7 separate regions of the Homo sapiens genome follow, and all the other regions are linked to region 1. Evidence: promoter capture Hi-C in 16 types of primary human blood cells and fetal thymus (Javierre and others, 2016). All regions are on one chromosome and are shown on one strand. The core of a region is centred on a gene start or on the middle of the fragment in contact, and the rest is flanking DNA. Distances in the headings are between cores, read along the strand shown. Region 1 holds the start of CNTN5 (contactin 5). Region 2 overlaps JRKL-AS1 (JRKL antisense RNA 1). Region 3 overlaps JRKL-AS1 (JRKL antisense RNA 1). Region 4 overlaps JRKL-AS1 (JRKL antisense RNA 1). Region 5 has its middle 120 kb from the start of LINC02737. Region 6 has its middle 290 kb from the start of LINC02737. Region 7 has its middle 320 kb from the start of LINC02737.

Region 1 (4,224 bases), core at 747-3,246:
TCCTTCTTTACATTGGCTGCTAACAAAGTTAATGGCAGACCTAGCACCATTTGTAACAAAAACATCAATGCAGTTTTCTCTATAAACCTCATTTCTGGCTTCATCTTATCTCTCCTCCTATCACTTTACCGTTTGTCTTGATCTCACTGACCTACATTTTTTATTCATTTTTTTAAACTGAATAGATTTTTATAAGCCAACTTACATCCTTTCTAGGGCAAAGCTAGTTGAAAGAAATTATGTGACATAATGACTCAAAATGCCCAAATTATCGGATCATGGGTAATATAGAATGGTGTTCTAAGAAGGGAAGAGAACTTTCAGAAAGCTTTCTACACTCCCGATCCCTCTTTCAGGCTGCATGTGCTCAATTATACACTTTTAAAGGCAAAAACCTCATCGAACAATAAAAAGAATGCGTTAGAGCTCCTACACTTTGAATTTATTTTGTGATGTATTTAATGTGGTTATAAAAGTCCTGGTAGTTCTCTCTGTGAACCGACAGCCTGACAGAGGAGAAGAGCCAGTGGGGCAGAGAAAAAGCCACAGAAGGGGAATCTCCACAACGATCCCTCAGTTAACACATAAAGAAGATAACCTAGTTACTGGAAAGCAGGAACACGAATATAAAAAGTATGGAAGAGTGGAGAAGTATTAAATGCACACAAATTTGTCTTTGCTACAGAACAAGCAATCAGCCTAGATCCTGAGGATAGCGATTAAAAGCAGAGACTGGGTGTTTGTACATCATTGGATGAATGAGAAGCAGCCAAGAAACAGGAAAAGACTAATTTTAATTACCAGAAAAACTGCAAGAGAAAGAACACAGGGCTAGTGGTAGACGGCTTCCAGCTACAGGCTGCCTGGCACTGTACTCTCCTTGCCAATTAGAGCCAGTCAGACCCCATCGGGGGATTCAGTGAGCAGAAGAATCAGCGTCAGTCCAGGGTCAGGCTGCTCTCAAACACACATGAAAAACGGACACCAGCGGACACGGGGTGCGACCCTAGACTCCCATGCAGTTTCTTATACAGACACAGAGATAGAAAGCAGTACGTGGGATTTCCTTTCCATTAAATACAGGTGCAAACCACATTCTCTATGGAAATATATTGCAAAGGAAATGTTATATAATTTATTTAACAAATACCCAATTACCATCAGCCCAATCGTGGGAATTGGAAAACGACTCAAAGACTGAGAGGAAAAAAAAAAAAAAAGTAGAGAGGAGGACTGGCAGAACAATGGCACTAAAGCTGCCACACTGTGGATTTACTACCTGTGTTATTTTTCCAATTACAGCCATTGTAATATAAAAATTCCGAAAAAAAGGTTGCTGAGACCATTCCTTCGCTTTTTTTTAGAACTGAGTCAACACCCCAAATCAAAGAGAAATATAAACAGGCAGAGCCTGATAGTCCTTAGATGAAACGCGTAAGTGCAGAAACAAAAGAGAAGTGCTTCCCATTCAGGACTTAAGAAAATTCTGCAAAGTGAAAAAGTCCACTCTCAAACCGACCTAAGTGAACGCGTCAGTCTGTGCTGCTGCTGTCAGAGGTGTGAGCCGGGGACTACAGGAATCAGAGTGAAGACAGGAGCGGAGGAAGGGACTCTCGCCTGGATCTCCCGTGCCGACTCCAGCCAGCACGTTTGCTTTGTAATCTATGAATGTTAAATACGGAGGGGTTGCAGAGCAGAAACGCTCGGGGAAGGGGGGCAGGTCCTCTGTACTTAGCAGGGAAGGAAAATGCCGGTTGACTAGTGAGACGAGTGGAGAAACACAGAGCACCCTCCGGGAGGCGCACAGTTCGTTAAGCCCAGGGACATGCTCAATGAACCTTTGCAGCAAGAGGCAGTGAGGCGCTGGACGCGGGCGCCGGTGACAGCGCGGGCGGCCGGGGAGGGGCGAGGGGCCGCCCCGGGAGGACACAGCCAGTCAGAGGCGCGGGGCGCAGGGCGCGCGGACGCATTGGAGGAAAACACGCGAGCCCCAAACACACCAGCCGCAGGAGGCGCCGCACCTACTTCCCAATATAACCAACTACGGCGTGGGGGAGCGGAACTGCGAGAAGGCGGCAGCCAAAGTGCCATTAAAGCTCGGGGCGGAGAGGATGCGTTACCTGGGTCCCGTCTGCTGCGAGAGGCAGGGCAAGCTGGAGGATTCCCTCTGAATGATTAAGAACTCCGCAATTCGCCTCTGCCACAGGCTGCAAAGGACCCGAGGAACCGCTCTCTCTGAACTGTGCTGATGGGCAGGAGGATGGGAGACAGGAATTGAGAGTCACAGAGGAAGGACAGTGGAGTCTGGCATCTTATTGGTAAGTGGCTGACATTCCTTTGCCAGTGACTGCGTTCTGTGATTGTGCACTTCATCTCCCAGCCACTTAGGATTTTTGACACACTCTGTTCTGCAAAGCCATCCTTTCTTGCCATGTTGCCAGAATGTAAAAACTGTAAGATGAAGCTTTTTTAAATAAAGGAAACAAAACACGACTTTATTTCCTGCTGGGATTTTATGGCAAAAAGTTGAAACAAGAGTAAATATAACCTATTTGTATATCTCCTAATGCCACCCAAAATAAGAGTAAGCAATTCCTACACGCAAATTGCAAATTGTAAGGCAATAAATGCCAGGATAAAGTGAGGATGTTTCTACAAAAGAAACTAAATGTTTGGAAAATAGGATGCCGTTCTCAGGTACTGAATGTATGCCTTATGTTTGAGCAATGAGTTTCCGAGACTAAATAATTGGGCATCTGGCATTGCAATAACTTGTTAAAATTCAGTAGGGATGCTCTATAAGTGGAGTTCTACAAAGTTCGTGAGACTGAGAAAAACTGTATCTTGGATTATGCTGAGCTTTTTTCTAAAGGTTGTATAGGATTGTGATAGATTAAAAAATTATGTTCAGACATCCTTACCATGTTTTGTAGGGAGATATACGGAAGAGAATATCAATTTGCACATACACAAACCTGAGAATTACTCTGATGACCTGAACAATAAGTTGTTTCAACTATATTTATTTGCGAAAGAACCAGAATCCACTAAATATTTTAGAATTATATTACTTTTAAATCTTAGAACTGTTCTCCCAAGAAAAATACAATTTCATGTGGTAATTTAAATGCAGGTGAGAAGCAAAAAACTTTTAAACTGTTGTATGTTCAATGCCTTACCTACATTTCATTCATTTGTTTCTTAATTTAAAAGAGAAAATCATTTAGAGGGTCAATACTTCTACTTTGATTCTCAATTACGACTGTGGAAATAAGGATGAAAGAAGTAGATGTTCATTAGAATACTAGCATTTAAAATTATAGACAAATAGTCAAATTTAAAAATTAATGCAGATATCATCGATTACTGTTGAATTGCAACAGAATTACAGAAGTACTTATGACCATTACAGGGAGCTTAAAGGAGTTCATTATGATTAATATTGTGACTCTCAGTATTTTAAAAAATAATGATTAGGTCATTAACTGTTTTTGAAAATGCCTGTAGTCAATTTTGAGCAATTCTCATGGTTGCTTGCATATTCTCCTATTTCATGCTCAAATTATTCTAAGTTAAGTGGGGACTAGTATGCTGAGTCTTAAACTTAACAGGCATAAGTTTACTCTGACTCTAATCGAAAAGAGGTATGAGTAAGAATATGTCATATAAAACTAATGATAACAAATTAAAGATATTACATAAAAAGATCATCTAAGTCCATTAAAGGGAAAAAGGCAAAAAAAATCAGAGTTAAAGTTATAAAAAGGGAAATTCAATATAAAGAATAGAATTTGACAAATAGCTGGAGTGTGAGGGAATGATATTAAAGCCTATCTGAAAATAGAAAGTCAGTGAAATGATTATTACAAGTGCCAGTGTTTTTGCTTAGGAATTGGTGTATCCTTTAAATTATTTAAAACTTCTGAAAATTGAGAAAGGAGGAGAAAAACTGCTAATTTTAATTTCTTTCTGATTCCATAGACAACTGAACAGAAAGTTAGATTCTTAAAAGTTATATAAAAATATAATCCCATAGATTAACTAAATGCCGGACTTTGTCTATAAGTTGTGAGGCACATGCACACCAAGGTGCTTTTGGAAATACATCCAAAAAGCTACAGTTGTGGAATTTTTAAATGAATAGCTGAAATACCTGAATGTTTCTCAAGGTGAGCAGTTAGTACTTCAAGTATTAGGTGGTCTGAAACAATTCTTAGTCAGGGA
Region 2 (4,224 bases), core at 855-3,354, 2.6 Mb before region 1:
AAATAGCAAGCATAATATTTGAAGCTATATTGTTTTTCTTCAGGCATTTGCCACTTTGAAAGAGACAACAAAGAGGTTAACCAGCACTTTTGAAATATTTTTGAGATGTAAGTGGAACAAAAGTTGGAGTTGAGAATATGTCAGAGTTTGAGATCTAATGAACATCTTCACAGGGTGGCAATCTCAAGTGGATGTACCGTGGGTATTAAGGAAGCCATAACTAAATCAGCCCATTCACAGATATAGATGAGTATGGTGTAATGTAAGTGGTCCAGAAAATGTCAAATCATAAAATTTGAATTAAGGTAATCTTGGATTGCTAGACCTTCCAGGTACTTGGCAGAAGCAGACAAAATTCCACATTAGAGGAAGATAACATTACCTGAGGTCTCAGATTGTTTTTACAATAATTTTTCAAATGCCATGTTCAGGATACAATCAAAGATAATCAAATATCTGAGAAGGAAAGACAACGTAAGCAAGATAAAGTGCAAAAAGTTAAGAGAAACATACCCAGAGGTACTCCAGATAGTGGAATTATCACACATCCTTTGTAAAATCGGTATTTTACAATGGTTTAGAAATCAAAATCCAAATCTAAAAATTCTAGCAAGTTACTTAAAATGATAAAACACATAATTTCAGATTGAAAAAGAATTAGAGTTTCTATTTCTAAAAGAAAAACATAACAAAAATTGCTAAGGTATTTAGCTCAGTTATGCATAACCAAAGAGAAAATTGGTGAACTGGAACATGTCAGAAGAAAATATTCATTGCCAATTTTATTTAATTGTAAAAAAAATCCACAGAGGGATTAAAAAATCTGGAGAGTAAGAGACATATAGAGTAAGATGGTCTAACCCTTGTTTAATTGGAGTCTCAGATAGAAAGCAGAGAGAGGATGCAGCAGAATTTGAAGAAATAATGCTGAGAATTTTCTGAAATGATTAAAGACATCAGTTTGCAAATTCAAGATGCTTAATGAATCCCAAGAAATATAAATAAAAAGATACCCACACCTAAATATATTATAGTGCAATGCTAAAGGAAAATCTTGAAAGCAGCCAGGAAAAAAAAGAATATTACCTGTAAAGATGTAACCAATGGAATAACAGATAACTTCTCAATAGAAACAATAGAAACCAGGTAACAATGGGATAATATCTTCTTAGTGCTGACATGAGTGAATGGCTGAAACTCTAATAGAAACCATATTTTTTCTGAACGGAGTATAAGGAAAAGGAGCATTTCTGAGTCTGGGAGTATGGCGGTGTGTGGAGAATCCCAGAGAGGAGGGATCCAGAGAAAAGGATTCCCTAACTGCATGCAAACCTGCACAAAGTCTCAGTCTAACCCATAAACTATACATGCACAGAACAGGCCCAATTCAGCATAGCTAAGGCTTTGAAAACTGAACTGAGACTGGAACTGCTTATAGAAGTCTCAGCCTAACCCCTAAATAACACATTCATAGGACAAATGTAGACCAACATAGTGATGATTTCGAGCTAAATGAAGATTAAAATCAGGGCTCACAAAAGGTGAGAAACAGTACAGTCTGAATATACCCAGGTTTTTTGCTTGCTAAAACAAAAACATTAACAATCTCAAGAGGATTAAAATAGGAGCAAGAATCTACACACACAATTTAACATTCACAATTACAATATCCAAGAGGAATACAGGAATTCATTTTACTATTCTTTAAACTTTTCTCTAAATTTGAAATTATATTTTTAAAAAAGTTACAAAAAAGAAAAAGAGTCAAAGGGAAGAAAATTTGAGGCAAAGAAAACATCCTTGAAGTGGGAAAGAGCCTGGCATGTTATAGGAACTAAGAGAAAAACAGTATGGCCGGAGTGTGTTGACAAGGTGCCAGGTGGCAAGTGATGAGGAGCAGAAAAGACAGTGGAAACTGGGGCTAGATCATGCGGGTTCTCATCGGCTATGGTAAGGAGTTTGGATTTGACTCTGATGGGAAGTCACTATAAAGTTCTGAGCAGGGATGTGACAAGATATACCTTGCAGTTAATTTCAGGGAATTATTCTAACTGGAGTTGCTTAGGCTACACATCAGCCTCTGAGTCACCCAATCACTGTATCTACAGAAAAAAGGAATAACTAGGCCTTCCCTTGGTCCTCTTATCCAGAGGATGAGGATGGGGAAAATCCCCACTGGAACCCTGTGGGACAGCCAAAACCAATAGCTGCCACTGCCCACAATTTGCTATGCCTGGGCTGCCCAGCATATCACTGTTTGTGACCCCCCTACAGCAAACCTGCATTTCCGTCTCAGTTCTAATAACATCCCAAGTAACATTACAAATGATCCCACATTCAACACCAAGAATAAGAGCAAAAGCCCCTACTTACACTCTCTCTAAATGGAGATGGCGTAGAAATAGCATTTGGTTTCTCTATTCTATTCCAAGTCCAATATCTCTGGGTGATAATTATTTCATATAGTCAGGTTTGAATGTGGCTCTTCTTGACCCTGCAACTGAAGGCTAGATGCCAAATTGAATGTTGGAAGGAAAACGGTTATTCAGCAAGTTAGATGCAGAGGCTGGCCCTCTCCCAGAGGGAAGGGCTATGCCTGAACCCAATTATCCACTGTAACAGGAACCCCTTTCCAGCAGCAGGAATGGCAGCAGCAGCAGCATCCCACCACTCAGAAATTATCAGGTGATGGCAGCTAGCATTCTCAGACGGCTCCTAGCCATGTTGGCATTTATACTCAGACAACTTGGTGTCTACATCCTTTGTATTTATACCCCATATCTGAAATTTATCATGATTGCATGTTATGACAGTGGAGAGTCAGGATCCCTCTCCTGGGGGCAGGGACCTGGGGTGTGTCCATCAGTATGCTGAACTGATTTTTAGACCTCTCTTTGTGATAATAAGACAATGCAGACTATATGCCTCTTAAATTTAATCCTTGATTTGTATGTTTTCCCAATAAATCCAGTTGCTTATAAACTTACCTATGATATTGCAGAATTTGCCCTCACTCATTTTTAACTATGATTTTTTTTTCTGTTTTATAGAAGGGAATGAATACAGTGAAGTTGCTCTCCTGCAGGTTGTATTACATTTGCTAGATAGGTATGTCAAAGATCTCTTTGCCCTAGTAGTGGTCTGATTTCCTGTATTAGGATAGACTTGATTTTTGTTCAGGTTCTGCTTGCCAGGAGTATCTTCCTGGTCTGTGATTTCCAGTGGCAATTCCCAAGAGTGGCATCAATGAGGATTCACCTTCTGAAGTGTTGAAGACCTCTATTTATTTTGTCTCCCAGCATACAGTCCTCTCCTGATCACAAAATCTCGCCTCTCTAAAGGAAACACATTCCATATATTTGAGACATAGCTACACCCCTTCTGCCTACCAAACCTCCCATTCTTCTCTTTCTTCTCCCAGCTACAGGGATGGGCACATGAACCTAAACCAGAGGGTCAGACTCCTCCTCAGAACTCCTTTTCAGGGGTTTTTGGAGAATATGTTCTCTTATGACTGCAGCTGTAAGGTTGGTGGGTTGTGAGTCTTGGGGCCCTGGAGACCCTGTGCCTGCTACGTGGAGAGAGTGAGAGAGCTTCAATGCCAGCATTTGTGCATTTCATCCAGCTGGGTCACAATTCAGTGTTTCTTATGTAATTTTCAGCTGAATGAGTTCAAAATATTCTCTTATTGCTTAAGCAGTATACTGTCATTTGTAGTCAAGAGTTGTACCTAATTACATGAGGGCTTCACTGCTTTAGCTGAATGAGGTCTGTTGGCAAGTTTATATTAGTCTAGGAATTGCTTTAGGAGCTGAGCAATCACAGGACCTTCTTGACCAGGTTTGAATTTTCTCTGGCAATTAAACTTCTTTAACATACTACCATGTTGCTGGTGGGTTTGATCTGGAGGTGCCTCATTAGCTTGTAAGAAATGTCGGAAATCTTATTATGATCACGGAATCTGGACCCTTGCCTTTGAAGTTTCTATCTCTAAGCAACAGTAGTCAGGCTTCTCCCCATAGCTCTAGGCCTGAGTTTAATACTTCTGTTTTCATCCCTGCCTTTAAAACAATGGATAGGAGGGGAGACATACATATTTCACTTAGCAAATGCATTTATATATACATTTTTAGATTTGAGAGGGTTTTTTTCCTTTTACCATTTTGAAATCCCTGTCAGTAAGAACTTTAATTAAAAACTTGAGTATATTTAATATTTTGAGTA
Region 3 (4,224 bases), core at 781-3,280, 2.6 Mb before region 1:
TTAGGGGTGTGGCCACAAATCCTAAGGGCACAGTTCTGCCATAACTAGATAAGCACACAATATCTTTAATTAAGTCTAAAGAAAAACATACATCTACAAAATAATTGTGGTAGCAGCTACTGGCACACAGAAATGTAATCACATAGATAAATAGCTATATCTTTGAAAGAGTTGTACTGCCAAAAGCACTGTCATCTTCAATTCAAAGAGACTGTAACTGTTTGAGATGATTTGTGCCCCAATTTTCTTGGGCAAGAGGCAGGCTGAGAAAGCTGCTCCTTCCCCTAGAATGGCATTGTCTCCAATGCTCTCCTCAGGTGCATCCAACAAGAATAACCAAAAAGAGAAGATGTTCCAGAGGGTGGATTCAAGACACAGAGAATGATGGACTGAGGGTATCTCCACTTCTACCTCCTCAAGAGCTGAACAGAGGCTACTCAAGAAATATTCCCTGCTCTAGGTTAGGAGGCCTCATGATGCTTGTTCAGCAGAATTTCAAAATTACTGTGTATTACTGATGGCTAAGTGTCTGTCTGCCTTCCTCTTCATGAATGGAGGTTTCATTGTAGTTGTTCTGTCCCTGTTTCACCATTTTATGTGAGTGTGTATGAGTTATTTTATTCCTGACTTAGAGAGTACCACAAGATCTTCAACTTTGCACCTGATGCCGTAAGCGGATGCAATTTTCAAGGTATATTTAATGGGAGCGAGTAACTTTGAGTGAGAAAGGAAGGAAAGTGAATATCCAGAGAAGGTGTTCTTTGACCGATTGTATTATTCTTTGCAAATGTATATTTCCCTCTCCTGCTATGGGAAAAATGTATTTTCTTGCTTCACGGATGTTGGGCTACTCCATGTGACTTTTTTTTTTTTTTTTTTTTTTGGCCAACAGTATGTGAGCCAATGAGACAAACATTATATTTGCACAGAAACTTCAAAAGTGATTGCTTCTTGTTAGCCTCTGCCACAAAAGTAAGCATCTTTCCCTGAGGTCCCGGTATGAAAGGAAATGTAGTACAGAGTTGAGCAAAGCTCTAGTACCCCATCCATTCCACAGATGCAGACATGTGAGTAGTAAACAAATATTTGCTGCTACAAGCCACTGAGATTTTAGAATGTTTCCTTCATGGCAAGCTCGCTGATGAAGGACTCAAGATCTTGTTTGAAATTTCCTTTGCAGTTTTGTTCAAGGGATGTAGTGCCCATAAAAATTTTATTAGTTATTTAAAAAATAATCATTTAAGCTATAGTATTCCAAAAAACCTTAGCTTATATGCCAAATAAAATTAAAAGTATTTTTCTTTATTAAAATGAAGCAAACACTTGCTGATGTTGAAACCTCAACACACAGGAAGTTAGAACATTAGAAATTAGAAAATAGAAAGACAATTCCGTAAGGTTATTGGTTTTGTTTAGTAGGACTTTGTGGTGTATGTATAGCACATTAATGAGTCGAATCAAACTATTTGTAATGTAGGCCTTAAGAGTGAACTGGACACTTTTGAAAACTATAGATGCATTACTGACATACAGTGTACTACTGAGAACTGTCAGATTATATGTATGAACCTTTGCCAGTGACTTTCCAGCTTGGTAATGTGTCATACTAGAGGAACAGGATCATTTAGAAGCATGCCTCATGTGATGTGATACTAGTAGTGAAGTAACAACATTTGCTTACAATTTTTCCTTTACAAATTAGAATGGATTCAAGACTATCCCTATTGTAACCCCAGGCTTACTTTCATTCCAGCATGCTTTCTTATGTGGGAGGGTAATGGAGTATCCTAGTATATGTAGCATCCTAGTAACCCTACAAAATCTCAGGTTGATTTTGTTTGTGTTTCAGGCCATTATATAGGCTGCACTTGGAAAATGTGTTCCATATGTGAACCTCATCTGTCACGTGAATGTGTAGCAGGGGTGAGATTGAAACCTCTTGAATTCCTGTGAGAACTGACGTGACTTCTAGTGGAGAGAAATCAAAGATCAGGAGTGGGGTGCAAATAAGCAGGTATACCTCTGCTCTTCTAATTCAGAAATAAGGATAAGCAGAGAGAATGAGGAGTGACACCTAAGGGTAAGCTATGAAGGGCAGAATGGTTCTTCTGCTCAAAATTTTTTCCATGCCAATTTTTCCATTTGAGTCAATATGTCTTCTTCTAAAATGCAAAAACCCACTGGAAGAGTAGGCATTCAACTTTTCTTTTATTTTTTCTTTCTTTTTGTTTTTTTGAGACAGGGTCTTACTCTGTCACCCAGGCTGGAGTGTAGTGGCGTGATCTCGGCTACAGCAACCTCCACCTCCTGGGTCAAGTGATTCTCCTGCCTCAGCCTCCCAAGTAGCTGGGATTACAGATGCCCACTACCATGCCCCATGCCCAGCTTTTTTTTTTTTTTTTTTTTTTTTTTACTTTTAGTAGAGATGGGGTTTCACAATGTTGGCCAGGGTGGTCTTGAACTCCTGACCTCAAGTGATCTGCCTGCCTTGGCCTCCCAAAGTATTGGGATTACATGCGTGAGCCACCACGCCTGGCCTCAACTTTTCTAATGCTTTAGTTAGTAATTCCTTGGAGGGCTCAGAGTCCACAGAGGGGGATCTTTCTGGAGTTAGAAGTGTTAAGGTATAAGGCAGATCTGGGTGAGGGTACTATAAAGAGCTGTACACAGCTACAACCCCAGGTTTATGCCACATCAGGCACGTGCTGGGCACTGAGCAGATGGGGGTGAATGAAAGGACAGACCATGTCAATGGTTGCTAGGACGAATGCTTAGGGATTTGGGAATCTTCCCGCAGACTAGTTTTCCTGCCTCACATCATGCCATTTTCTTTACCAAATCCCACATAGAACATGGTCAATGCCCCGCACATATCTCCTATTACGAGACTTTTGCCTGGGTTGCTTTTTCCATTCTCTCAGACATAAATACTTATAGATCCTTTCATGCCCATTTCAAATGTCTCTACCTCTATGATCTCTGATTGATTCCCTGGGCAGAATTAAGCTCCCTCCTTCCCACTTTAGTTTTATTCTTCTAGATACTTCTCACTTTATACTCTCATTATCTATTTGTGTACTATGGATGTATTGAGGTCAAGACCCAAGGCTTTTTTATCTGTGTCCCTGCCACAGCATCATGCACATACAAAATGGGTGCTCAATAAAAGCTAATTCGTGGAGTAGAAAGAAGAGGAGGGAAGATATTAGAAAAGTTATATAGAGGCAAAAATGGCAGCAGATAGCTGTCAAAACAAACTCCATTCATTGTGAAGTCAGGGTGACAGCTGGCCCAGATGCCCTTGGGAATTATTTCGCTTGTAGACTTTGGTATATGACAATAGTGCTAAGTAGATTTTAGTGCCTGTAAATAACTCTCCCTCATATTAGATGTTTGATTGTGGCTGGCAGTGGGTGTGGGGTCAGCAGTCTTTTCCATGCTGCCTACCTTATCCTATGACTTACAGACACAGCAGTTATTGGAGAGCTTGTGTGGCTTCTTGGAGTGCTGCCGTTTTACCTACAAAAGATGTTGATTGCCTTGGATTGAAAAAACTTGCTTTTTCTGACTTTTGCATGCCAGATTGGCTGCAGAAGTGTTATGAACGTTTCTTAGCTTTTTTTCCTGTTCAAAGCTGTGCTTTCATGTGCATGGTACATTTCCTTGGCTTTGACCTCCTTGAGGTTACCCCCACTTTGGCTTGTAAAGCAGCATTGTTTGGGGATTCTGCTGTCATGCATCTTCTGGGTGCAAAATGCCTGGCGATGCTGGTGGCAGAAGGCTTTGCTTTTTTGCCAGATACACTAGTTTTGTAGTTTTGTTGTTGTGCTATAAATGTGCTATTATTTATTTCTTTATTGGGGAGTGTAGGTGTTTAATATAGAGGGAGAAAAAGAGAGACAGGAATAGAGGGGGAGAGAGAGGGACATATGAGAGATAGGTATTCTCTGTTATGCAATGTTAAAATACATTTAGGCTAGGTTAAATGCTGAAACTGTCTACTAAATGCATCTCTGCATTATTTGGAGATTTTCTGCCTTTAGCAGGTACTTCCACATTCCTATTCTACCTGTTTGTTCTTTGGTTTTCCACAATGTCATACTTCACTGGAAAGTGCTAGTACTGTTAATAATTGTTGCCATTTATTGAATACTTCCTTGGGCCAAATACTGTAGTGAGGGCACCAGACATGTCATATGTCTAATTATCATAAAAGTATCATGA
Region 4 (4,224 bases), core at 1,130-3,629, 2.5 Mb before region 1:
AGCAAAGAGACATTTATAGAGGTCATTTTAACTTATGCTAAATTGTCTAGTCAGTTCTAATAGAACCTGGACTCAGGTGTATGCTATCTAATCATCTCTTCTGTGTTACATTGTTCACTACGTTGTATTGAATAGACTCTTTCGGTGGTAGCTTAAAGAGGACAAGGAAGTAGCTAATGTCTGGATGATATGTCCTTTTGTGCTATGAACTCAATGATTTTCTCCTTTGGAAAATTAATTCCTTCTTCTTGCTTTGAAAATGTATTGCTTATATTTCAAATTACACAAATCACAGTTATATTGGAGATAGGTGGATATGTATTGCCAGCTCAACCAGCTTGTAGGCTGCATGGGTGCAGGAACTCTACCTCATCTTTTTATTCTTCAGAGTATTTAGCACAGGGACTTGAGATTATTAATTATACAATAAATATTTGTTGAGTTGATCTGAAGATTAAATGTGTTAATGCATATTACATCTTTTTGTAAGACACTAGCCACATGAAAGACAATATGATTATTTGAGTCATCATATATAGAGAAGGAAGGGAAATAGAGGAGGGCGGGAGGGGGAAACCCACTCCAGAGACTTTAAAATCTCTTTGAGAGTGAAGTCATTAAAATCTGAATATAAAATTTTAATTTAAACTAGAATTTTTCTAGTTGCTCCTAGTGTAGTAGACTTTTCTAAATTTTTACTAAAAACTTTGAGAAGATAAAGGAAAAAAGATGAAACCCTACAGCAATATTGAGAACAAAGACTCACAGAAAAAAATTCAAAATCTGGGAGAAATTTACTCTTACCTAGAGGATAATTGTGCTTCTATTACTTAGATTCAGTTTCAAATAAGAGAATACTCTAATAGTGACTAAAACATGAGGACATTTCTTGTTTGTTTAACAAGTAGCCTGATGTTAGATGTTCTCTGTATACTTCAAGCACCCAACATCACCATCAAGAAATTAGGTTATTTCCATTTATTCTCACTGCATTCTCAATGTGTTGACATTTTGTCCTCAGATTTTTCATCTCATCATCTCAGGATAGCTGCCATAGCTCCAGATACTACATTCTAACACAGAATCATATCAAGCAGGAAGGAAGAGAGAAGGGGCAAAAATAGAACATTTTCTTCTATGTTTCTTTCTTATGTGGAAGGAAAAATACCCCAACCCTAAGTCTTCAGTGGACTTCTCTTTACATCATTGCCTAGAAGTAGGTCAATCATGGCCGGGTGTGGTGGCTCATGCGTGTAATCCCAGCACTTTGGGAGGCCAAGGCAGGCAGAACACGAGGTCAGAAGTTCGAGACCAGTCTGGTCAACATAGTGAAACCCCCTCTACTAAAAATACAAAAAATTAGCCGGGTGTGATGGTGTGCACTTGTAATTCCAGCTACTTGGGAGGCTGAGGCAGGAGAATCATGTGAACCCGGGAGGCAGAGGTTGCAGTAAGCCAAGATCATGCCATTGCACTCCACTCTGGGCGACAAAAAAACAAAAAAAAACAAAAAAAACAAAAGCCGATTGCTGGCAAGATGGCTGAATAGCAACACCTCTGGTCTGCAGCTCCTAGTGAGATCAACACAGAAGGCAGGTGATTTCTGCGTTTCCAACTGAGGTACCCAGTTCATCTTATTGGGACTGATTGGACAGTGGGTGCAGCCCATGGGGGGCAAGCCGAAGCAGGGTGGGGTGTTGCTTTACCTGGAAAGCACAAGGGGTTGGAAAATTTTCTCCCCTCCCCAAGGGAAGCTGTGAGGGACTGAGCCTGTGGAACTGTGCACTCTGGCCCAGATACTGTGCTTTTCCCACGGTCTTCGCAACCTGCAGACCAGGAGGTTCCCTCTGGTGCCTATCCTACCAGGGCCCTGGGTTTCAAGCACAAAACTGGGTGGCCGTTTGGGCAGACAGTGAACTAGCTGCAGGAGTTGTTTTTTTTTTTTTCCCATACCCCAGTGGCGCCTGGAATGCCAGCGAGACAGAACTGTTCACTCCCCTGGAAAGGGGTGCTAAAGCCAGGGAGCCGAGTGGTCTGGCTCAGCGGTTCCCATCCCCAAGGAGCCCAGCAAACTAAGATCCACTGTCTTGAAATTCTCACTGCCAGCACGGCAGCAGTCTGAGATCAACCTGGGACGCTCAAGCTTGGTGGAGGGAGGGGTATCTGCCATTGCTGAGGCTTGAGTAGGCAGTTTTACCGTCACAGTGTAAACAAAGCCTCCGGGAAGTTCAAAGTGGGTGGAGCCCACTGCAGCTCAGCAAGGCCACTGTGGCCAGACTGCCACATTTCTCCTCTCTGGGCAGGGCAGCTCTGAAAAAAAGGCAGCATCCCCAGTCAGGGATTTATAGATAAAACCCCCATGACCCTGGGACAGAGCACCTGGGGGAAGGGGTGGCTGTGGGCACAGCTTCAGCAGACTTAAACACCCCTGCCTGCTGGCTCTGAAGAGAGCAGCAGACCAGCACGCATTCGAGCTCTGCTAAGGGTCAGGCTGCCTCCTCAAGTGGGTCCCTGATCCCCAAGTCTCCTGACTGGGAGACACCTCCCAGTAGAGGACAAGAGACACCTCATACAGGAGAGCTCTGGCTAGCATCTGGCAGGTGCCCCTCTGGGATGAAGCTTCCAGAGGAAAGAACAGGCAGCAATCTTTGATGTTCTGCAGGCTCCACTGGTGATAACCAGGCAAAGAGGGTCTGGAGTGGACCTCCAGCAAACTCGAGCAGACCTGCAGCAGAGGGGCCTGACTGTTAGAAGGAAAACTGACAAACAGAAAGGAATAGCATGTCCACTCAAAGACCCTATCCTAAAGTCACCAACATCAAAGACCAAAGGTACACAAATCCACAAAGATGGGGAGAAACCAGAACCAGAGTTCTAACACATGAGAGGAAGCTAAGAACCTTGAAAAAAGGTTAGAGGAATTGCTAACTAGAATAACCAGTTTAGAGAAGAACATAAATGACCTGATGGAGCTGAAAAACACAGCAAGAGAACTTCATGAAGCATACACAAGTATCAGTAGCTGAGTTGATCAAGCAGAAGAAAGGATATCAGAGATTGAAGATCAACTTAATGAAATAAAGCTAGAAGACAAGATTAGAGAAAAAAGAATAAAAGGAATGAACAAAGCCAAAGCAATATAGGACTATGTGAAAAGACCAAATCTACATTTGATTGGTGTACCTGAAAGTGATGGGGAGAATGGAACCAAGTTATAAAACACTCTTCAGGATATTATTGAGGAGAACTTCTCCAACCTAGGAAGGCAGGCCAACATTCAAATTCAGGAAATACAGAGAACACCACAAAGATACTCCTTGAGAAGAGCAACCCCAAGACACATAATTGTCAGTTTCACCAAGGTTGAAATGAAGGAAAAAATGTTAAGGGCAGCCAGAGAGAAAGGTCGGGTTACCCACAAAGGGAAACCCATCAGACTAACAGCAGATCTCTCGGCAGAAACCCTACAAGCCAGAAGAGAGTGGGGGACAATATTCAACATTCTTAAAGGAAAGATTTTTCAACCCAGAATTTCATATCCAGCGAAACTAAGCTTCATAAGCAAAGGAGAAATAAAATCCTTACAGACAAGCAAATGCTGAGAGATTTTGTCACCACCAGGCCTGCCTTACAAGAGCTCCTGAAGGACGCACTAAACATGGAAAGGAACAACCAGTACCAGCCACTGCAAAAACATACCAAATTGTAAAGACCATTGACAATATGAAGAAACTGCATCAACTAACGGGCAAAATAACCAGCTAGCATCATAATGACAGGATCAAATTCACACATAACAATATTTACCTTAAATGTAAATGGGCTAAATGCTCCAATTAAAAGACACAGACTGGCAAATTGGATAAAGAGTCAAAACCCATCAGTGTGCTGTGTTCAGGAGACCCATCTCACGTGCAAAGACACACATAGGCTCAAAATAAAGGGATGGTGGAATATTTACCAAGCAAATGGAAAGCAAAAAAAAGCAGGAGTTGCAATCCTAATTTCTGATAAAACAGACTTTAAACCAACAAAGATTAAAAGAGACAAGGCCATTACATAATGGTAAAGGGATCAATGCAACAAGAAGAGCTAACTCTCCTAAATATATATGCACCCAATGCAGGAGCACCCAGATTCATAAAGCAAGTTCTTAGGGACCTACAAAGAGACTGAGCCACCCTCACAATCATAGCAGGAGAGCTTAACACCCCACTGTCAATA
Region 5 (4,224 bases), core at 1,170-3,669, 2.4 Mb before region 1:
AGTATTCTTTGTCACATTGTCCAGAGTTATAATTATCTCCTCTAATGGGGCATGGGGGATGCAAGAGTTTTATTTTACTTCTTGAGTAGTTCATATTACAATACTGCAGCTGCTCCATGTCCAATGGGGGTCCAAATATGATTGGATGCAGCAGTCAATTCTTCTCAAGCACTTAGCTTCCTTTTTGCAGATGTCTTCAGATCCAAAGTGAAGAAAAGACTGCAGCCCATATTTAGTGTCAGTCTTCATATTTGTGTACTGTTGAGACTGATGATAGGGCAGTAAAGGAGATAGACACTAATTTAAATAGTTTAAAAGGGAATTGAGTTAAAGATCTGATAAGAACTGGCAGCATTGATTAAATAACATAAGTCTGTTCAGTTTTCTGAAGTGAAAGTACATTCAGTTTCCACAAATGAAATAGGTGTCTTTTAGAACTATCAAAAGGGGAGGGAAGTACTTGTTTGCTATAGACTATGTTTTCTACTATATGGCTGTAATATGCTGATTGGGCGTTTTCCATATGTAATGTTTTAGTACCTTCTGTTGGCAACACCCCATGGTGGAGTTGTTTGATATAAAGTTATATCTTCTGTGAAAAAAATAATGAATATTACAAGTAATTGTAATCAGAGTTGGCAGCATGAAAGGTGTATTTGCAGAAACAAGAATTGAGAAATAGGTCATCTGTAAAATTGCGGGAGAAGCAAACACCACCTCTTCTAAAAGTGGTCCAGATTGAATTTAGATCTTCATTTAATCTAAATAAACTATAAGAAGAGTTTCCCAACATTGTGTATGGGAAAACAGCTAAATTAATAGCAGTAGAGGTTTTAAGGATGAGAAGAGGAATTTTGGGAAAGATGGTGGAACCAAGAGAAAAGGGACAACAAAACCAACACTTACAGGAAAGATTACAAGACCAATCAGTTCTGCGGATACCATTCAGATGATTTTGAGGTCCTAAATATTTGTAGGTAAATGAAGAATATAGAAAAAGGAAACAGTAGGGAAAGCCAAAAGGAAAAGGAAAGGACATTAATCAAGGAAGTTTTGAAACCAATGAATGATAGAAAATTAAAAGAAGTTAGTCTCTAAAAAATATAGAAGCAACCAATAAGTACATGAAAAGTCATACAATATTATTAGTTATTAGGAAAATGCAAATGAAAGGCACAATGATATACAACCTCACACCTAGTAGGATAACTATAATTTTAAAAGACAGGTAACAAGTATTGGCAAGGATGTGGAGAATTTGGAACCTTTTTACATCGCTGGCAGCTATGTTAAATGGTCTCTCTGCTTTCGAAAACCATTCGACAAATCCTCAAAAAGTTAAACTTAGAATGACCATATGATCCAGAGGTGCTGCTTATAAGTCCCTATCCAGAAGAATTAAAAACATATATTGATACAAAAACATATACACAAATTTTCATACTGACATTATTCCTAATAGCTCAAAAGTGGAAACAAACCAAATATCCATGACTGACAAATGGATATCCAATATGTATGTCCATAAAATGAAACATTACTCATTTATAAAAAGGAATGAAGTGCTGATTCATGCTACAACATGGATGGACCTTGAAAACATATAAAGGAAGCCAGACACAAAATGCCACATATTGTATAATTCAATTTATATGAATTGGCCAGAATAGGAAAATCTATAGAGACAAAAATTATATCAGTAGTTGCCAGAGACTGGGTGGGGTGGGGTGAGGGGAGTGGGGAGTAACTGCTAATGGGAATGGAGTTTTTTCTAAGCTAATAAAAATATTCTGAAATTAGATTGTCATGATGGTTGCACAACCTTGTGAATATACTAAAGCTCACTGAATCATATACTTTAAAAAGGTGAACTTCATGGTGAATTATAGCTCAATAAGAAAAATAAAAGAAGGATGATGAGTAGGTTACAAAGGAGGTTTACAGAAGAAATTAAGTATAAGAATCCTAAGGGATCTTGATCCAGTGTCTTGGGTAGAAGCTGACCACTTTGAGTTGTCATCTGCTTGGTGCCAAGTTCTTGGGAATGCAATGTATCTCATGTTGTCATCCTCTTCTGGGGACTTTTAAAAGATCCTCTCTTTATGGTATTCTGTTGGTGTGGATTTCCATTTGTAATAAAGCTTAGTTTTAAAATTGCGAAACATGAACCCCAGCTTGTACTACTTGTAGCTTTGCAGTGGTATTGATAGTTAGGAGACAGCATAATGCCTCTTATACTTGGGTTCAGGATCGGTCTTTCAGTAGTGTCTTCCAGAAGACTAGGTCTCCCATCTGAAAATGATGTTTAAGCTGTGGTGGTATATCTTGGGAGAAACAACTTGACCTGTTGGGGGAAAGTGTAAGTGCACTTAACAATTGCTTGGCAGTATTTAGGGATAATATATTGTAGCAGATTGCAATGTCTGCTTCATTCCAAAGCAATGTCCAGAGTAATATCTCATTGATTGGCCTGCTAGTAATAATTTCACAGGAGGATAAAGTTGACTGGGTGGTGAGGAGTTCAAAGGATCATTAGGTCTAAAGGAGAGACTTTGGGCAAAGACAGGTTAGGTTCCTCAAAGAGTTCGCTACTATGAAGTTAAAAACACTATTGGACCATTATATCTTTCTAGAGGTTTGAAGGTAGTAAGAATAGTGAGTTCTTATGAGAGTAGAAGTAGTGTTTGAATATCCTGAGTAAGCTTACCAGTGAAGGGATTTCCTCTATTGATAGACAGGAAAAAAGGGATTCTCCAAGTGGGGAAAATTATTTCTAGTAGCAACTTAAATATAGTGGTGGCAGTATCCTATGTGCAGGTAAAATCTTCTTATCATCCTGAAAACATGCAGACTATGGTAGAAACTATTCATATTTATAATACTTTAAAAGTGGAATAAAATCCATTTGCCAATGAGGAAGGGAACAGAGGAAACTGTCTCTCATCTTTGCCTTACCTTTAGGTTTTTGCCAGGATTGTATTTTTTTTTTTTTGTGGCAAATTGAGAAAGTTGAGGTTATTTGCTTACCATGAAGCTGATGTGACCCTACCAATATTTCTGAAGGATATTTTAAAGATATTCTTTGCTGTGGGCTTTGCTGATGTTGTGGATTAAATTTTGGATATGAAACCAAGGAATGAAAAGTAGCCATCTGGGTGTCTTCACATGTACAAAACATGTAGCTTGTTTTCAATGAGCTTTCTCAGCCTTAGATGCTAGCAATTATTGTCCCAGAAGTTCCTTAATTAGAGTTTCTATCTCTAAAGGAGGTTGAGCAAGGGGAGTAGTGCAGGCAACTGAGGAAGAATTTTCTTGCAAAGTGGCTCTCTTGACGTATTTGTCTCCCCACGGGTTTCCTTTAGCATCAGGAGACTGTCTAGTGTGAGCTTCAGCTTTGAGGGTAGCTAATTCCTTGGGTAGCAAGGCTTCTAAGAGGTTAGCTACTTGAGTTCCATTGAATATCTGCTACCTGTGCAAATGTTAGCTTTCTTATCTTGTGCTAGTATGCAAGTCTGGCGAGGGCTATCAGTTTAACTGCTTGGCTGATTTAACTTTAGGTAGGGGTTTGAACTCAACAAATGTTTCAAAATCTGGGATAGTATATTTTGCATAAAACTCCTCATTTGTATGCCTGAGGTAAGAACTGTGCACAAAGGAGGTGACATCTGAGTATTTGGGAGTTCTGGTGAAGTTTGGGTGAGAGTGATACAGTCATCAGGTTCTTCCTCAGATAGTAGGGGAAGAAGAGCAGAGGACTGAGGTGTAGAGAGTGATAAGTAGCAATATGAGAGGAATAAGGTAGTAGGATCTCACAGGACGTGAGGATGGAAGTGGAAGAGTGTTGAATATTCTCAGTTAGTAGTAGGGTCTTAACTACTTGGGGCACATAAAGGTTGAATGCATGACTCAGAATTAAGTTAGTATTGATCTTGACCAATTTGGTAGCAACAGCAACTAAAGCAAAGTGAAAATGTCTGAGCCACAGGGTCAAAAGTGAGGCTAAAGAATCCAACAGGACTTTGGCTTCCATTGTATTTTTGGATGGCGACATCTAAAGCATGTCCTTTTCCTTTATGCATAAAAAAATGGAAAAACTCAATGAGTAACTGTAGAGTCCAAGAGTCAGGGGAAATGATAGAGAGGATTTGAGGTTTTGAAATGCAAACATGGGAGGGGAATCTCAGTTAAGGGGTTTGGAAATGGACTCCTTAGCTGTGGCTTCAA
Region 6 (4,224 bases), core at 1,251-3,750, 2.2 Mb before region 1:
TTAGCTAGTATATAGAGATGCCACTGATTTTTTTGTTTTTGTTTTAACTTTTAAGTTCAGGGGTATGTGTGCAAGTGTGTTACATAGGTAAACTGTGTCACGGGGGTTTGTCGTACAGATTATGTTATCACCCAGCTATTAAGCCTAGTAGCCACTGGTTATTTTTCCTGATCCTCTCCCTCCTTCTACCCTCTACCCTCCACCCTCTGATAGGCCCCACGTGTGTTGTTCCCCTCTATGTGTCTGTGTGTTCTCATCATTTAGCTCCCACTTATAAGTGAGAACCTGCAGTATTTGGTTTCTGTTTCTGTGTTAGCTTGCTAAGGATAATGGCCTCTAGCTCCATTCATGTCCCTGAAAAGGATATGATCTCATTCTTTGTTACGGCTGCATAGAATTCCATGGTGTGTATGTACCACATTTTCTTTATCCAATCTATCATTGATAGGCATTTTGGTTAATTCTGTGTCTTTGCTATTGTGAATAGCCACTAATGTTCTGATTCTTGATTGTATGTCTGGTAAACTTAATGAACTCCCTTACTAATTCTTCGTTTATCTATAGGTTCCTTTTTACCTTGACACTTTTTATTCTTTTTCCATCTTTGCATCTATTATGCATTTTTATTTTCTTACTTCCCTGACTGGTATTTTATGGACAAAGTTTAATAGAAGTGGTGATAGAAGTCCTTATTTTGTTCCTGATTTTAAAGAATTCATTACCATTTGATGTAATGTTTTTTGTAGGCTTATGATAAATGTACATTATCAGGTTGTGAAAATTTTAATCTATTTCTAGTCTTCCTAACAGTTCTTCTTAAAACAATTGAAAATAGCTATTAATTTTTATTAAATATTTTTGTACCTATTGAAATAAAAAATCATATGGCTTTTCTTCTTTCATCGACTAAGGTATTGCCTACATTAAGTATGTAATCTTTAAAGCTAGATAGATCTGGGCTATTGCCTTGGTTCTTACCTTTTCTTGTATACAATCCTGGGCAAGTTTCTTAACCTCTCTGATACTCAGTTTCATCATCTATGAATCAGGAATAAAATAAAAACTGTCCTGTATTACTGTGATGAATTACAATGCATATAAAATCTCTAACTTTTAGAAATTTTTATTCAGTAAACATTAGTTCATGTTTCCTTGTGTTTTGTTCATGACTTATAAACTGCTGAAGTAAAAAGCTATGTTAAAAATTCTGGTGGGTGTAGCACTCCAGCCTGGGCAACAGAGCGAGACTCCGTCTCAAAAAAAAAAAAAAAAAAAATCTGATGTGTGTAATAATAAGCAAGCATTTAAAATATTTAATTTTTGTTAAATAATTTCTAAAAGAAACTATCAGGAAAGCAAGTAAATAAATACAAACAACAAAAACCATCTGTTATACCCCTAGGTCAAATAATGAAATTAATGAGGATCTTACTGACATATAAATGCATCATGCAAATGATAGAAGATTTTAAATCAAAGAAATATTGGGAAACTTTGTAATAATGAAACCTTAAATAGTCCTCAAACATATTTGACATTGACATAAAATGCCAATAAAGAAAAGCTGTGTAATAGCTACACTGCAGACAGATGGGCTACTAGAAGAACTCACTGAAATTTTCCATATCAGCCACTTGCTATTGTCTCAACAGTGAACAATGAAATAACCAGGTGTTTTATTTTATGTTGCAAATAAAGTATTAATTTGACTTTTAAAATATTTTCAAGCTTCATGTTCAATATTTATGCCTTTTTCTTTTATCTTGTTGAAATGAGCAGAAATCATTTATAGTGTTTTATCAATTTTGGTTGAGAAATTTCTTCTGCTTTTACAGTGAGTATAATTCTTGGCAGACAGAGAAATTAGTTATCTTGATCAACAGCACATAATCCTGCACATATATAAAATTCTATGTATATTCATTGTGCCTAAAATCCCATGGTACAAACAAACTTATGTTGTTTTCATCCTGTTGAAAGTCCTAGGCTTAAAAAAATTAATTTTCTTAGCATACTGTAGTTATTCTGTGTATCATTTAAAAATTGTTTTTTAAACCTTCATTCTGAGTTATATCAGTATATTAAAAATTGCTATTCAAAGAAAAACACCAAACTTTTAAAATAAACACACCTACATTCAAATAACTTTTTCTTTTTGCAAAAATAAGCATTTGTGTTGAATTATAATGAAAGAAAGTTCAGGAAAGGCTGATTTAAATCTAGTGGTTCAGTCAATCAATATTCTGTGTCTTTGTATTTTCTTTCTTTTTTGGCCTCCTGCTTCTTATATATGAGGTTGTTTGTTCTCAGAGAGCAGGATCGTTTATATACTTCTATAGAATACCAGAGAAGAAGAACTAAGAACATTCTTTGAAAATCATAACATGCTTTATGCTTTTATTTCTTTTAAATGGGAATGAATATAGGCAAAGCACATGAATCCATTTCCTTCATTTGCCATGTAGCATATGTTTCTCATTGTTGCCATTCCAAATTAATTTGAATCAGATTCTTATATTTTATAAACTACTGAATTGAATCACTTTGTACCACTGTCAATTATTTCATGTGGACAAATTTGCTTAATGCTTATGTTTTTCATTACTGTGCTAAAGGCATTTGATTGCACTTCGGTATCTTCAGCTGTCAAAAAAGCCAGAATAAAACATCAGAAAGATAGAATGCGTTTCCTTTCATTACCTCTGCAGGGGACTCATTTCTTTAAATGTATATGACCATTGTAACTATGGCAGAATTTTATGATAAAGAAAAATAAATTGTACCCTAAGGTATTATTCCCATTTTGATGGATTGTAAAACATGTTAAAATTGGTCATTATGAACTATAATTCTTCATGGATCCAAACCCTGTTAGTATAATTTTTTTGAATTATAAAAAAAAATAGAGATCAATTTAGTTGGTGCTTTTAAATGACAGTGCATTCAGACTGCAGTAATGTAAAATGACAGCACCAGATATCAGGGATTGGTATATTTGTACTCCTGTTGTTTTGAATGAAAACAGCTTTGCCTCCTATAGGTATAGACAATTGAGATTGACAGTGGGACCCAAATCATTGCACTATGTTTGAGGCTTGAAGGACACTTGAGTTTATATTTCACAGGAAAAAAAATAACTATTGTTCCCTAAAAAATGCAGAAATTCTTTTAAAATATGCTTACATAATAATTGAATTGTGAGGGTAAAACATGGTCATACACCAAATAAAATCTCAGAGAACAAAATGAGATCCGGTCTTAAACAGCAGAATAAAGCTTGGATTTTAAACAAGTTGTTAATATAATTTTTCTCATAGATTTCTCAGCAATCTTCTAACGATACTGAATTTCCCAATATAAAATTCTTTCTTCATCATAGGTCATATTTAAAATGTCGTTTCTTCTCCTTTTCACTAATGGTTGGACATTCAGACCTGGTAGTATGCTAGACACCGTCATATCTGGTTTCCTATTTAATTCACATATTTCATAGAGCAGGGATTATAATCATCATAGCTATGGAAAATAAAGTTTAGGAATTACACAACTTTCTCTAAAACACACAACTAACGGGGCAGAACTGGAACTTACAAGTTATCACTTATTTTTGTTCTAAATCTTTTGGTCTTTGATTTTTCTCGTTTTTATTCTTTTCCTCTTGCTTTTACTTTTCTTGCACTGCAGCTAGTATGCAAAAACACTTAATAAAACTTTTCCAAATCTAAATAAAGTTTTTAATCTTGAAATAGAGTACATGTTATTTTAAGCAAAGTTTAAAATAAAAAAAAAACACCATTATGTGAAATCTCAAAAAATATTCAAACTGCATAGATGAATCCCACAAGAATAAGTCCACTTTAAACACGGAAGAACAAAAACCAGATTCCTGTCTGAGTACTCCACATTAAATGTTAGGGGGGAAAAGGAACATACAGCTGTTTTTTATATTAAAGACTAAAACTCAAGATTTCTAAACTATGTATTAATACAAGATGTCAACAGAAGATGTTGTATAAAGAGAATAAAAAAAAAATCTCAGAAACCTTCTTGAATGCCTACCAGAATAGAGGTACTAGGACAATGAAGTAATGGATCGAAAGAATATAATATACACACTTAATTATTAGAATAATTTCTTAAAGTTTTATAATGTGAAAACAGGTCAAGAAAATGTTAGGATTTTAACTGCAGAATACATCCACAAAGATTGGAAAGTTCATAAAA
Region 7 (4,224 bases), core at 1,230-3,729, 2.2 Mb before region 1:
TAATCAGCTTGAAGTTCAAGAAATCTTTCTTGGAGGTGCTGACACCTGAATGGAGTCTCAAAGTTTGAGCAGAAGTTATCCAATTAAATAGTAGGAGGACAAGAACTCAAGGTAGAGATAAAAGTAGGAACAAAAGTATGAAGATACGGCTGGGCTCAGTGGCTCACACCTGTAATCCTAGCACTTTAGGAGGCCGAGGCAGATAGATCACTTGAAACAGTCTGGGCAACATGGTGAAACCTCACCTCAACAAAAATTAGCTGATGTGTTGGTGGGCGCCGGTAGTCCTAGCTGCCCCAAAGGCTGAGGTGGGAAGATCACCTAAGCCCAGGAGGTCAAGGCTGCGGTGAGCCATGATCACACCACTGTGATCAGGCATGGGTGATAGAGTGAGACTCCAGCATGGGTGACAGAGCGAGACTCTGTTTCAGAAAAAAAAGTGTGTGAAGATATGAATACACAAAAAGAATAAGCACTTAGTATATTATTAGAGCATAAAGTGAAAGCACTGAGCATGAGATGAAGATGAGTGGAGGATAACTTATAAAAGTCCTTATTTTACCGTGTAAAATTATTGGACCATAGTTCAAGAATGGTAAGCAAACTATTGGAGGATTTATTTAGGCATGTGACATAGTCAAAATTTTGTTTTAGACATTGTATCAGTAATGGTAGGCTTTTAAGTTGAGATAACAAATTAACCTACAAATCTTCAATTTGGCTGGAAGAAGTAGGGTCTTCAGACCTAAATATTCACTCAAACCCTGGCTAACCGGTTTGCACCATCTTTTTGGTGGATGATGCAGGGGAATAGAGAACGGAAAGTCACATACAGACTTTTCATTACCTCCACCTGTAAATAATTGCTTCCCTACAAAAACCATTGCTCAAAGAAGTCATATGGTCCTACTTAAGTGTAAGAGATCTGAAAAGGTTGAAGTTTTTCTACATGCAAAAAGAGACAAGACCTCGAAATATTGGTGAGCAGTAGTAATTTCTGTTGCTGTCACACCTCTCTGGGGGCCTTGGGGAGTATGGGTTTGAGTGGTACAGTACAGTACAAAGAAGGTATCTAAATTAACTAGGTAAAATATGAAGAATGTATTGACCAGTTTGTAAAGATGTAGGTGGGACCAAGAAAGGAGAAATGATGTGATAAATATTTGGGAATTAAAATTATTGGAACTTGATGATTAATTTATTGAAATGTGAGTTGAGGCAATAATTAAGAGAATATAGGACTACCCTTGGATTTCTGAAATGGGCAGTTGGATAGATGATAGTACAATTAATCAGAGTAGAATAGAATACCGGGAAAACAGGATGTTTCACTGGTAGAATAAAAAATATGATTAATTTTTGAATTTGTTGATTTTAAGGTTCAGTAAGAAGTGCATAAATACAAAACAAGAATATAAATATAAAGCTGGGGATATGATTAGTATGAAGAATGTGTAATAAAAAATGACTGGTCAGAAGGCAGGCTCTGAGGGAATTCCCAGAGTATGCACAAGAGGAGGAATGTATAAACCAACCACTAATGAATGATTAGAAATCTAAAAGGGTCAGTTGATGAGAAGAGTCAAAGAAGCTGGTGTAGAAGGATTTCAGAAGTGAGTGATAAAATATATCATATAGATGAGGGTCTTTTAATGATAAATTCCAAGTAGAATAGGATCTAAATGTAAAATCAAACCTTAATCCCTTGAGCAGAAAATATAAGAGAATGGTTTTCTGATATTGGGGTAAGAAAAGATGTTATAAAGCTTATGCTATAAAAAATTTAAAATTAGACTGCATTAAAACTTCTATGTAAGGTAATAATTGAAAGGTGTTCATTAGATATGGCAGTGTTCTTACAGGGTCTTTTTGCCAGAAACATTTCAGTGACTTCAACAGAAACTAGAGGAAACCAGAGTCAAGGAAGTGTTAATTTTTTAAGGGGACACATATGAGCATATTTATAGAGCAAGAGTAAAAGGTCTTCAAAGAGAAGTGATTTCAGGGTGGACACTTTGAAAACTAATTTAAATTCTAGAACTATTACAAAGTTGGGAGGCATGCACTTTTCTTATTTTTTTTTAATCTGTCTTAAAAAAGGCTTTAGAAACTTTTTAGGTCTTTCTCAAATAATCTGTAGCCTAATCTCAAATCTATAAACTGGAATGATGATTTAAATGAGAGGAACATGGAGACAGAATTTTAGTTTGGGTTTAGAAGCTGATCTCAAGCAATAATTTGAGTGGAAGTAGTTTATTTGGGAGGTAATCCAAGGAATTATTGGGAGAGGAGTGGGAAAATATAATGGAGAGGAAATGAACCCCCTAAAGAGGTACATTGTCAAACCAGTTACTACTGTGAGCAGTCGGAGGTTAGCCTCACTGGAGAACTCTGGGAGACAGCATAGAAAGAGGCCCAGAGTTATCCTGACCAAGGAGTAAGGAAGCTGGGATATGTATTCACCAAATTCCTGTCCATTATGTATGTAGAGCCTTTTTTTGGGCATCAACTGTCCAGCACTCTGTGTGTGCCTAGCCTGTATAAAGGCTGAGCGGGAACCTTCAGTCAGAAACATGAGCCTCAGACAGTCATAGGTGACAGTGATCCTGTGTAGAGGCAAATCACAGGAGCCAATGGGTAAGGCACTGACACCCTGTGCTGCAGGTGAGTGGGTCAGGAAAAGACCCCAGAAGGGCAGCAGTGGACCAAGGACAAGTGTACCATTATGTGGTCTTAGGCACATTCCTTGACCTTTCTGGATTAATCCACAAAATCGGTGGTGTCTCATTTTACTAAGGCTGCCATAAGAAAATACCATGCACTAGGTGGCTTACATAACAGAAACTTATTTTCTCACAATTTTAGAGACTTGAAGTCCAAGGTCAAGGTGTTGTCAGTGTGAGTTTCCTCTGGTCTCTCTCCTTGTCTTGCAGATCACTGCTCTCTGCTCCTTCTTCACAAAATCATCTCTCTGTGCACGCATTCGCCTGTAGACTGTCTGTATGTACAGAGCTCCTCTTCTTATAAGAACTCCAGTCAGACTGGATTAGGGCCCAACCAAGAGCCTCATTTTAAGTTAATTGCCATTTTAAAGGTCCTATCTCTAAACACATAGTCACATTTTGAAATACTGGGCTTAGGGATTCAACATATGGATTTTGGGGGGACATAATTCAACCCATTACAAATGAGTAAGCTTCATGGTATATTGTAATAACCTGTTTACAGTTACATTACAATAACCTTCAATATATTGTAATAATCTGTTTTGCTTTTCTTAAGCTCATTTTTCATAGCCTTACAATAAACTTTTGACAATTTTTGTCTCTAGATGTCTTCTCCCAAATGTTGTTTTCTTCTGAATGTGATTTAATCTTCTTTTTTCTATGCCACACTTACATCTTAAATCTACAATTTCATTTGATCTCATCAGTAAGAGATATGCACTATTACCTTGTGATATTCATCAAACGCACCCCTCACCGTCAAGTGACAGGCTTTCATCATCCTGGAATTAGAAGTCTGTGTTCTGATTTAAGGAGAGGAAGGCATGTTAAACTGTTTGAATGGTTGGGAAAAAAAAATGACTCAGCAGTTGAATTCTTAGCTGCTTAGAGACTGTTCAGCTTCTTATAAACCTTGCCTGAAAATAACGGTAAATCCTGCCTCTAAGCTTGATTCCTGTATACATTCAGCTGCCTTAGAGGGGCAGTGCTGTCTCATGTATCAGACAAGAAACTGCCAGCCAGGAGATTTGGAATTCTAACTCTTCTGGAAGCCTGAAGCAAATCACTTAACTTCTCCATATCGCAGTATCCACATTAAAAGATGAGGGTAAATAGTGTCTATCTTGAGGGCATGATAATGACAAATCAAAATATAATGTATGAAAAGTTTGAATACTTAGGTATTTTGGTAAGAAAAGCATACTATTATATAATGACTTTTCAGTTAATGTCCTGGTAATTTTTATCTGCCCAAAGTTTCAATTTTTAAAGTTGGGCTGTGTCCTCCATGACAGTTGCTCTGGCTCTGAGTATGGTATCCAGAAACCTGAGAAGGAGAAGGAAGAAATATTCAACGTAGTCAGAGAATTTCTAGGTAGAACAAGCATAATCTGTAGATTGAATAGACACGCTTTTCTTTCACATACACCCATATACACATATACTTTTTCAAATATATGTAGATACCATTGAGCTATTAATAAATAAAACTTTAAAA

What was found. Contacts are between HindIII fragments. The CHiCAGO score rates a contact against its expected background, and 5 or more counts as called.
Region 2: a contact is called between a fragment that was not itself captured here and the fragment with the promoter of CNTN5 in region 1, in 9 of 17 cell types (M2 macrophages, M0 macrophages, M1 macrophages and 6 more). The highest score is 32.9, in M2 macrophages.
Region 3: a contact is called between a fragment that was not itself captured here and the fragment with the promoter of CNTN5 in region 1, in 16 of 17 cell types (M2 macrophages, M0 macrophages, total CD4 T cells and 13 more). The highest score is 165.5, in M2 macrophages.
Region 4: a contact is called between a fragment that was not itself captured here and the fragment with the promoter of CNTN5 in region 1, in 2 of 17 cell types (M0 macrophages and M1 macrophages). The highest score is 10.0, in M0 macrophages.
Region 5: a contact is called between a fragment that was not itself captured here and the fragment with the promoter of CNTN5 in region 1, in 1 of 17 cell types (fetal thymus). The highest score is 7.1, in fetal thymus.
Region 6: a contact is called between a fragment that was not itself captured here and the fragment with the promoter of CNTN5 in region 1, in 1 of 17 cell types (endothelial precursors). The highest score is 5.2, in endothelial precursors.
Region 7: a fragment that was not itself captured here is called in contact with the fragment with the promoter of CNTN5 in region 1 in 1 of 17 cell types (fetal thymus); the score reaches 5.1 in fetal thymus.

What each region holds. Positions count from the first base shown.
Region 1 is chr11:99,018,953-99,023,176 of GRCh38, forward strand. CNTN5 (contactin 5) reads left to right here and starts at 1,997. Exons shown (of 25, transcript NM_014361.4): 1 at 1,997-2,318. The HindIII fragment of the contact is 2,136 bases long and covers 327-2,462 here.
Region 2 is chr11:96,440,869-96,445,092 of GRCh38, forward strand. It overlaps JRKL-AS1 (JRKL antisense RNA 1), which reads right to left. Exons shown (of 5, transcript NR_047481.2): 5 at 2,413-2,507. Among named protein-coding and RNA genes, the nearest start is that of JRKL, 53 kb to the left of the region's middle. The HindIII fragment of the contact is 5,718 bases long and covers 1-4,224 here.
Region 3 is chr11:96,466,312-96,470,535 of GRCh38, forward strand. All of the region lies in intron 1 of JRKL-AS1 (JRKL antisense RNA 1), which reads right to left. Among named protein-coding and RNA genes, the nearest start is that of JRKL-AS1, 38 kb to the right of the region's middle. The HindIII fragment of the contact is 6,884 bases long and covers 1-4,224 here.
Region 4 is chr11:96,485,305-96,489,528 of GRCh38, forward strand. All of the region lies in intron 1 of JRKL-AS1 (JRKL antisense RNA 1), which reads right to left. Among named protein-coding and RNA genes, the nearest start is that of JRKL-AS1, 19 kb to the right of the region's middle. RefSeq lists an enhancer at 2,193-2,987. The HindIII fragment of the contact is 476 bases long and covers 2,142-2,617 here.
Region 5 is chr11:96,627,069-96,631,292 of GRCh38, forward strand. No RefSeq gene overlaps it. Among named protein-coding and RNA genes, the nearest start is that of LINC02737, 120 kb to the left of the region's middle. The HindIII fragment of the contact is 561 bases long and covers 2,140-2,700 here.
Region 6 is chr11:96,799,968-96,804,191 of GRCh38, forward strand. No RefSeq gene overlaps it. Among named protein-coding and RNA genes, the nearest start is that of LINC02737, 290 kb to the left of the region's middle. The HindIII fragment of the contact is 1,548 bases long and covers 1,727-3,274 here.
Region 7 is chr11:96,823,718-96,827,941 of GRCh38, forward strand. No RefSeq gene overlaps it. Among named protein-coding and RNA genes, the nearest start is that of LINC02737, 320 kb to the left of the region's middle. The HindIII fragment of the contact is 1,430 bases long and covers 1,765-3,194 here.